Linked DNA regions of Homo sapiens: region 1 is linked to region 2. Evidence: promoter capture Hi-C in 16 types of primary human blood cells and fetal thymus (Javierre and others, 2016). All regions are on one chromosome and are shown on one strand. Each heading gives the region's core, a stretch centred on a gene start or on the middle of the fragment in contact. The rest is flanking DNA. Distances are from core to core; before and after follow the strand shown. Region 1 has its middle 130 kb from the start of PLPPR5-AS1. Region 2 holds the start of SLC30A7 (solute carrier family 30 member 7).

Region 1 (4,686 bases), core at 1,815-4,314, 2.0 Mb after region 2:
ACTAGACATTGTTGGCCGGGCGCAGTAGCTCACGCCTGTAATCCCAGCACTTTGGGATGCCGAGATGGGAAGATCACGAGGTCAGGAGTTCAAGATCATCCTGGCTAACACGGTGAAACCCCGTCTCTACTAAAAATACAAAAAATTAGCCAGGCGTGGTGGCGGGCGCCTGTAGTCCCAGCTACTGGGGAGGCTGAGGCAGCAGAATGGCGTGAACCCGAGAGGCGGAGCTTACAGTGAGCCGAGTGCACCACTGCACTCCAGCCTGGGCGACAGAGAGAGACTCAGTCTCAAATAAATAAATAAATAAATAAAATTAAAAACTAGACATTGTTGAGAGAGTTGATGAAAAATTAAGAATAATAAAGGGAAACAAGGCTCATGTCTCCCTTAAAGGAACAGGGCTTGCTGCCAGGCTGCAATTCATTTCTAGCACAGCCCTAAATAGGATGCTATTTGTGTGATTTCCATCTCCCTACACTGAAAACAATGGATGAGTTAATTAACCCTCTACACACCCTGAAAACTTGTTCTTTCAAGCATGGATTTTTGACTTCCGACAGGTTTGGAGTGAGACAAATTTGAGTACAGGGCCCTTCCCGTCCCAGGGCAGCCAATTCTCAGTCCTATTTGTTTTTCAACATGAAAGGCTTATTCCAAGATCTACCAAGTATCCTGGGAAATTGGTCTGGGAACCTGCTTAGCTCTACTATTCCTGCCTTATACATAAGTCAAGAAGCTCCAAAGGGTAGCATTTTGATAAATCATTCTTAGTTCATTTTGCCACAACTCTATGTCCCAAGCCCTCGTGGTTTTGTTTTTATTTCTGATTTTATGGCAGACATTGTTAATCTATCACTGAATCCATTCTCACTGAGTAGGCCAGATAGGCAGACAGGCTCATTTCCTGTTTTCATGTGGTTTAGAGAAAAGATCAAAAGCCCTTTACTCAAACTGTAGCTTACCTAACTTCCAGCCAATCAGCAACAAAAAACCCAAGAAGCTATTAACCACAAGTTCCTGCTTTAGGGGGATAGGGACTTCCCTTCGGCTCCACATGTGCAGGTAGCCTTAAACTTTAACTTATAATTGCCCCTCCCCCTCATTTTAATACTAAAAGTCACACAGCCAGTAGTGGAGATTTAAAACGGTAATATTACATGTGGTGTATGAAGAAACATGTAGAGCCATTGCACAAGTGCTAGAAAAAACCCTCCTATACATGCCCTGATGAAATCCTTCCCTATAGAAAGTCCGCATAAAACAAATCCACATACTACCCTCCAGGAGCAGCCTGCCCTTTTCCTTTTGTGGTGCCGACTTCCTTGTGCACAAGCTAAAATAATGCTTTCTCTTTCTCTATGCTGCTATATCTAGTGATCTCTCTTGATTTCTATTGTCATCTTTCTTGAGACATTACAAGAACAAAGGGCACTGATAACACCTGTATGCAGCTTCAGAATCAGGCTTAACTCAGCAACTCAGTGGATAGGGAAGGCACGATTGGCTCAGGCTGGAATCAGGTGGACCTATCTTCCTTATCAGCAGATGAGCAATTATATGAGAAGTCATGATTTACTCTAATGACATTATGTCTTCTCTGGAAGGAAAAAAATTAATCCTAGAGACAGAGCGCCTCAAAGCCAGGATATCGTAAGTGTATTGACAGCTGAACTCAGACAAAATTATGGACGAGACTAAATTAAGTTTCAAGTCTCCTCCCACATGCCCACCTCTTAGTTTCTCCATAATTAAGCCTGCTTGGAGTGATTACCATACTTCATTCCCTTCCAAAATATATTTTTTCTTCTATTTCCTCCACCACAAAACTTAGTAATTTATAGACTCATTGCTTTAAAAATAACCTTTCGGCCTTAGCACACCTTAGACATTTAAGAAAATGCTGGCTTATCTGATAAGTGGGGAAAAAAGTGTCAAGAAAAAAATGCTCATTAGATGCAAGGAGTGCTTCCAATTAGGTAGTTAAATATGCTGAATCCTGTAAATCTTTGTATAGCAACACATGGCAGATTATAACTGCTGGGATGACCCTTACATATAGTGAATATGAAATAGTCAAACAGTAAAGTCCTAGCTAGGTGGCTGGGTGGCACTCCGTTTTAAGTAATTTTTAAAACCAACCACAATATCCCCACTGGGAAATTTGCTACACAGAAAGTGGCCACTGTTTACAGCCATTGGTCACTCTCCAACCCAACAACTCATTTATTCTTCATAACTCTTATCAATATGCAGAAATATTTACTTGTATTATTATTATTTATTACATATGTTCCCTTACTAGAATTTAAGCTTCAAGAAAAAAAGAACCTTGACCATGACTAGATCCTTAGGAACTAAATAAATATTTGTTGAAAGAATAAATGAATCTAAAACCCAAGCCTTTGACAGTACCCCATAATTAAAGCCAGAGATAATTATAGAATCCCATTCTTCTTAGCTACTGAGAAAATTTTAGAAGATACTTTATCAATGTATATGTATAATACATATATTATATACAAATATATGCACATTTTACATAAAGACCAGAAAATATGATGGTATAACTTAATGTTGAAGAGAAAGAAAGGGGCAAAGGGAAAGGCGGCTTTTTAGACACTAAGTAAAATTTGGCCACTTGGTAATTTTCCCTTAGGTAGGACCTCATCAGAAAGCCTACTTAATTTAATGCAGTTGAGATTTTTCCAGGTGTCAGCCTTCATGCTGATGATATTTCTCAAAACTTCTTATTATATCTTTCAAAATAAGCAATTCCAACTTCTTTACTCATCCTTTAGGAGTCCTGTTGTTTCTTCTCTATTGGATCCAGCTATGAATTACTCTGGCACTTGAGATTTCACTTGCACCTTATATCAGAGACTGTGAAAGCAAATGCTTACAAGACCAGGAAGATAACAATAATGAGTGATACCTTGGTCTTTTTGTGAAAATGTTTTTCATTGTATGAATGAGGGGTATGTACCCACACAGAGTGGTGGAGGTTGCTATGTGTAGCTCCTGTCAATTGTTGTGATACCAGAATTAAGACCCTCCACCACCGGATCATCTAATATTTCAAGAGAATCCAGAAATCTGGATTGTATGAGAAAATTATAGTCTTCAGTTGGATTGATTTTTATAAACCACTTGAGGATACACAAGTTAGGTCTATGTATCCAGTGCAACATGCTATCAGTTGTTTTTCAATTCTAAAATAATGATACTCTGGTTACTTTTCTCAAGACATATGCAGACTTTGGCTCTCTAAGACCTTTGACTAGCTGTGTTAGGACACATTAGTCTACCAGACTGTGTGGGGCAAGCAACATATCATGCAGCACCCTCGTTTAATAGTGATTACAGCAGTTTCACCCAGCTCATGTAAATGCCTAAGACAGTCCTGGCTATTGGCAATACTGTAGAATATTAGAATGACCTTGCCTTTCGTCTGGGTCATACACTGATTTTATATACATATATGAGTTTTCTGTGTTGGTTCCTTATTACAGACCTTCTTGCCTTCTTTTCAGCTTGTTGGCATTTGAGCCAATGCTATGGCCCAGCCATGTTATAAAATCATAATGATTCCCAATTACCTAATATGTGAAGTGTTGGGTACTTTTTCCCTTCAGGGTTTTTCATAGCTAGTAATGTAATAAACTATGTTCAATTTGGCCCATTCATTGTACTTGAAGAGGATGATATATATTCCATACCTGAACTATTGATTATTCATTAAAATTCAGCCCTTCCTTTTCCCCTGATTAATTCCTGTCAGTTTAATTTCTCTTCTTCTATTACAATAAGCTTTCAATTGTTTCCTGACCACAAGTCTCATGCTCATTTTGCCAGTCATTCAAACATATGCCCAAATAACTATTTAAAATCTATGTTTCTATCATAATCAGATAATATTCATAGTTACTTATCTGTAGGATAACATCTATGTATCAAAGCATGTGATATTATAAGAACAAAATATTTAAAATGGTGCTTTTTGCCACTTTCTCAAACAATCTAATATTTAGTCCCAATTCTGCAGAGACCACTTGCTTTCACACCTCTCTGGCTTTACCATGTTTACACTATTCTTTTCAGCTATCCATACCCATTGTATCTTTTGAACACTGACCAAACAGCAATTCTATTTGACCATTTCCTCAACAATTCCAGATAGTATTGTTTTCCTTACCTGTGCTATTTACTTTTATGATAGCATTCAACATATCTTTTTAGATTTTTTATTTTTCCTTATATTTGCTTGGGATCTTAAAGTAGATGGGGACCATGTGTTCATTTATATAGAACCACTACTCTAGTGCTGAAACTACAAAATAGGAGGCATTTATTAAAATATTTTCATATAAATAAATAATTTCATGACTCTTTAGTAATAAAGCATAAGGACTAAGAGGTAGGATTTGGAAAACAAAAAGAATTGAGTTCAAATTCCATATCTGATATTTTTAGCTGGGAAATTTTAAGCAAGTCAAATTACCTGCCTTGGCCTTAGTTTCTTCTTTGAAATATACTATTAAGAAAATGAAGAGGAAATCCAGAGCCTGCAAGAAAATATTTGGAACACATATGCAGATGCTCCTCGATTTATGATGGGGTTACAGCTCAATAAATTCATAGTAAGTTAAAAATATTGAAGTCAAAAATGCACTTTAGTACACTCAA
Region 2 (4,316 bases), core at 398-2,897:
AGAACTGAATTGACGGTTGAATTGAAAGAAGCCCAAGCATTATATAAAAGTATACATGTCACAAAACCTGGTGATATTACCTGTCAATGTTTGATCTCAACAGAAGATCAAGGACAGCGATTTTCTCTGAAAATGGGTCTTAAACAACAGAGACTAAGTCTATTTAATAAATAGAAAACAGGTTCTTAATCTAGAGTCCAAGATTTAGTACAGGGAACCCAACAACATCCTGAAGCTTTATGTACAATTCTGAGTATTGGCTTTCATCAGATTTTTGAAGGAGTATGGGATCTAAAGACAGAATTAGTACACCTAGGAGTGTGACAGTCTTGTTAGCAGAACAACTTCATAAGACCTTAAGTTACTCAACAGCAAATACCTGAATAATAGTAACTTCACTGCCACAGAGTTACACACTAGATTTTCCTCCTCCTAAGGATGTTTCAAAAAAAACAAAAACCCTCAAAGGTGCCACCAAAACCCAAGAAATGTTGTTTCTAGAAACTATATGGGATTTTTACATCGCAGTTAAGACTACAGGAAAATCATGAGACAGTTTCGGCATTAAAGAGAGAAGAGAATGACACATATTCCTCCCGATATCACTTTATAAAACCTCCCATTCCAAGCCCCAATAACAAACTAAGTAGAACATCTCAGATATACTCTCTCAGAATCTTAAGGGTGAAATCCAAATGCCACTCCCCCCCGAGAGAGGCAGCAAACAAGTTTCTCCCAATTCCAACAAAGTGGGTAAACCTAAGGCCTACAATTAGAAATGAAAGATTCTGCCCATCTGCTAAAATAAGGAGGGGCTTGTCAGTCTTGTCTGATGGAACTGGAGGGGAGCGTGACAAGAGAGGTTGCACAGGATAGGCCCAGATCTTACTCAAGAACTGTAGCCCTACCAGATTGGTGTGGGTATGAGAAAGCAACTCAGCAGCAGAGGTAGGTAACAAAGGTAGGACCTGAACCTCCTAGTGAGGAGCTACGTGGCATTAAGCAAACAGTGCTTCGTCTCCCTCACACCCAGCTTCCGCCCAAACCATTTTCCCCTTTGGTTACCAGTTGCTCCAGATGCCGTAGAGTAGTTCCACAAAAGCGAAAGAGAGGTTCAGGCACAGGAAGAAAAACAGGTTCCGGGAAGTCTTGTCGGACAGTATAGACCTGGGAATGATACACGTGGAAAAGAGCCGGGAGAGTTAAGGAGGTGCCGGGACCCCGAGGCTGGGTACCCTCTTCAAGACCCTCCCAGTTCACATGCTCCTTTCTTCACAGCTAGGGGTTGACGGGGAGTTTTTGACTCTCCCTCACTGGACCTCGGGCCATCCTGAGGTCTGGGCCTTCTCCCTTTCTGCCGGACACCCCCTCCCCGCAAACACAGCACCCCGCACCTAAACCAGCCCGAGATCTTGCCGAACAAATTGAACTTGGGTGGTTTGTATTCATCGTCTTTGATGGACAGGGGCAACATCTTCTCTGCCCGGCGAAGGGCCGGGTCTACTCCCCTCTAGAAGTGGCTCCGTGGGGTGATGGCAGTGACAGTAGTGACGCCTCAAACGGGAATCCCCAGCGCTTGTCCGGGGCCGCGCGCCGCTGCGAGACACAGACAGACACAGACACACACCCGGGAATTCGCTTACTTCCGGCCCGGGCCGCGCAACGCGTCCTGGGACAGGAAAGGAGGGAGGCCGGTCGCGGGCGGGGCCTGCGCGGCGGAGGGCGTGGCTTGCGGCGGGGGCGGGATGAGAAAGGTGCTGGAGCTGTTGGAGGGACGCCAGGAGGTGGCAACTACCAGGGGGTGTGAGGGGCTGACCTGGGATGGAATCCTGCCACCCGGACTCAGGAAGAAAATCCTGAGGTGGCGACCTGCAGACTGGGCTGGGAGATGGAGAGCCCGCTCACGCCCACCCGACCGCCTACCACCAGTGTTCCCGGATGCATGGGCTCCAGCGCCTGCCCTTTCGCCATTTCCTCCCAACTGGCATTAAATCCTGGTGTGGTAGATATCAGTGATTAAGAGTCTAGGCAGCCACGTGTTCTATTGCCGCCAGTCCGCAGGAAACGCAAGTGATCGTTTTGCTGCGTTAACTCTATGGGCGCCCAAATCTTAGGAATCCATTCCACGCCACCCCGAAAACAGCGCTTGACCCTTCTGGACTGCCACGCAGGAGGCGATCAATGTTTTTCTTTCTTTATTTTTTTAAGAGACAAGGTCTCGCCCTGTCACCTAGGCTGGAGCACAATGAGGCTCACTACAGCCTGGAACTCCCGGACGCAAGTGATCCTCCTCAGCCTCCGGAGTAGCTGAGACCTCAGGCGTGCGCCACCATGCCTGGCATCAATCAATGTCTTTCAAAATAAAGGCTGTTAAACGTAGTATAGGAAAGAAGCTTTTTAATGGTAGGTTCTACCAGACGTGTTTGTTTGATTTTTAGGTTTGGTTAATGCATTGTTTCCCGTACAATCTCAACCCGCGGAAACCCCGAAACTCTAGAATTCGTGCCGGTCTCTTTCGCTTCCAGGTCATCCCCGGGGCAACGGCCGCCGCTCTAATTCTTGTCAGAACCTCCAGGCCAGTTTCAGCAACGTGCAGGCAGAAGCTGGCCCCTCGGTGGGATGCGAGGGCGTGTGGAGCGCGGGGAGGAGAGCCCCACAGGCCTTTCCTGGGCACCCGCGGTGGATGGGAAGGCTCCTTCGGGCGCCTTTCAGGGAAGTTGTTTGGCTGAGGGAAGGTGGTCCGTCACGTGAATGTTTAAAAGTTGTTACCTTGGAGAAGAAATGGAGGAAAGGATTGGCTTTCGGAGGTGGGCTGGAAACTACAAAACCGAGCTTCCTGGGAATGCCTTTTAGGCCGACAGGAAGTGGAGCGTCACCGAAAGGGAGGGGCGGCCACTCGGGGACTGTCCCTTGCTCCAGGCGCTCACTTTGCGGGCGGCACTTTTTCCAGGTTGTTAATCCAGCTAATGGAGAAGGATAGATGCACGCTACTTGGTTTAGAAAAAAAAACAAAAATGAGCAAACGAGACGCCCCTTCCGTTTTATGATAACTAAGCTGCAGGGAAATAAATCGGCTGGCCCTACTGCAATCTACTGCACTCGAGGTAAGGAGACACAGCAAAATGCTCCAGTATTAGTATTTTTCTTTTTGTAGTGAGGATATATGCATGTTTTGCTCTCGTTCTGAGAACTTTGTGTGTGTGTATGGAGTATTCGGTGGTTTTATTTTTGAAAATATGTACTTATTCTACAATTTTGAAAAATGTTAATTAAAACTGCTGTGTAAAAACAGCTAGGTTTCAGAAGTAAGTTCTGGGAAGAGTATTTTGTATTTGCCTTTGTTAGCGTATATTTCATTCTTTTAATTTAAGTGTAGAAATATTTAAAATTAGTAGCATTTACTCTTTTTTTGGAAGGAAGTTTTTGTATTAGCAGTAGACCTTGAATTTTACTCTACTGCACTGCTGAGGAAAAATTAATTGGGTGCAAACTAGATAGTTTAAAGATAAATAATTCTATGGTAATTGGATTTTTCTCCAAAACGCCCTTATTCAATATGATTTAACTTGGGAGAAGGCGGGAGAAGTAATAGAAATAATTAAATTTCAGCAACTGATTTCCAGCATAATCCTAACTCATCAAGGTCAGCTGCATTTTGAACTTTTTTGTATTCTGCCTTTGAAAATAAGTCCTATATTTTATACTGTATTGCTACAAATCAGAAATCGCTTAAGTGGTTTATGGAGAAACCTACATTACCTCTTTTCAAATAGTTTTGAAATGGGTACGAGAAATTGAAGTTTAATTTCAGTTACATCAGTTTCCAGAGACTCCCAAATTCCCCCACTCCCCATCCCCCAAGATATATGATAGGTATTCCCATGAGGACCTTCTCCTTTCAAAAAGTGATGGTGATGTCTTCACATCTTTCAGTCTTAAAGAGCATAATGACCAAATTTAAAACTAAAGGCATTTTATTTGCAATATAAAAGTGTAGGTGGACACTATTTAAATCAGGAAAAGTTCTATGAGTGAAAAACGTCAGGCTGTGCCTCACTTCTTTTGTCATTGTCAAATAATGTTTGTCCCATATATGTTAACCTATCTTTGTTGTCATATCAAATTTGTTTCTTTCATTCATTCAACAGTCATTTAATGAATGTCTTCTATGTGCCAGGCTCTGTGCTGGGTGCTGGGGATACAAAGCCAGATAAATAAAAAGTTCCTTCCCTGGAGGAATTTTATGGAAAAGAGTAGTTATGAAGAAAGGGGGGGGTTGTGACAGGCAAATCAGTCTCGTCTTTTAGAACTCTGTG

The links. The method cuts DNA at HindIII sites, captures the fragments that hold promoters and counts their contacts. A CHiCAGO score of 5 or more calls a contact.
Region 1: a fragment that was not itself captured here is called in contact with the fragment with the promoter of SLC30A7 in region 2 in 2 of 17 cell types (total CD4 T cells and total CD8 T cells); the score reaches 9.4 in total CD4 T cells.

Annotation. Positions count from the first base shown.
Region 1 is chr1:98,867,990-98,872,675 of GRCh38, reverse strand. No RefSeq gene overlaps it. Among named protein-coding and RNA genes, the nearest start is that of PLPPR5-AS1, 130 kb to the left of the region's middle. RefSeq lists an enhancer at 984-1,103. The HindIII fragment of the contact is 1,497 bases long and covers 2,316-3,812 here.
Region 2 is chr1:100,893,421-100,897,736 of GRCh38, reverse strand. SLC30A7 (solute carrier family 30 member 7) reads right to left here and starts at 1,647. Exons shown (of 11, transcript NM_133496.5): 1 at 1,395-1,647; 2 at 1,066-1,167. The coding sequence starts at 1,474. EXTL2 (exostosin like glycosyltransferase 2) reads left to right here and starts at 2,895. Exons shown (of 5, transcript NM_001033025.3): 1 at 2,895-3,104. RefSeq lists enhancers at 1,143-1,302, 1,353-1,602, 2,153-2,222, 2,117-2,839, 2,840-3,563. The HindIII fragment of the contact is 2,158 bases long and covers 238-2,395 here.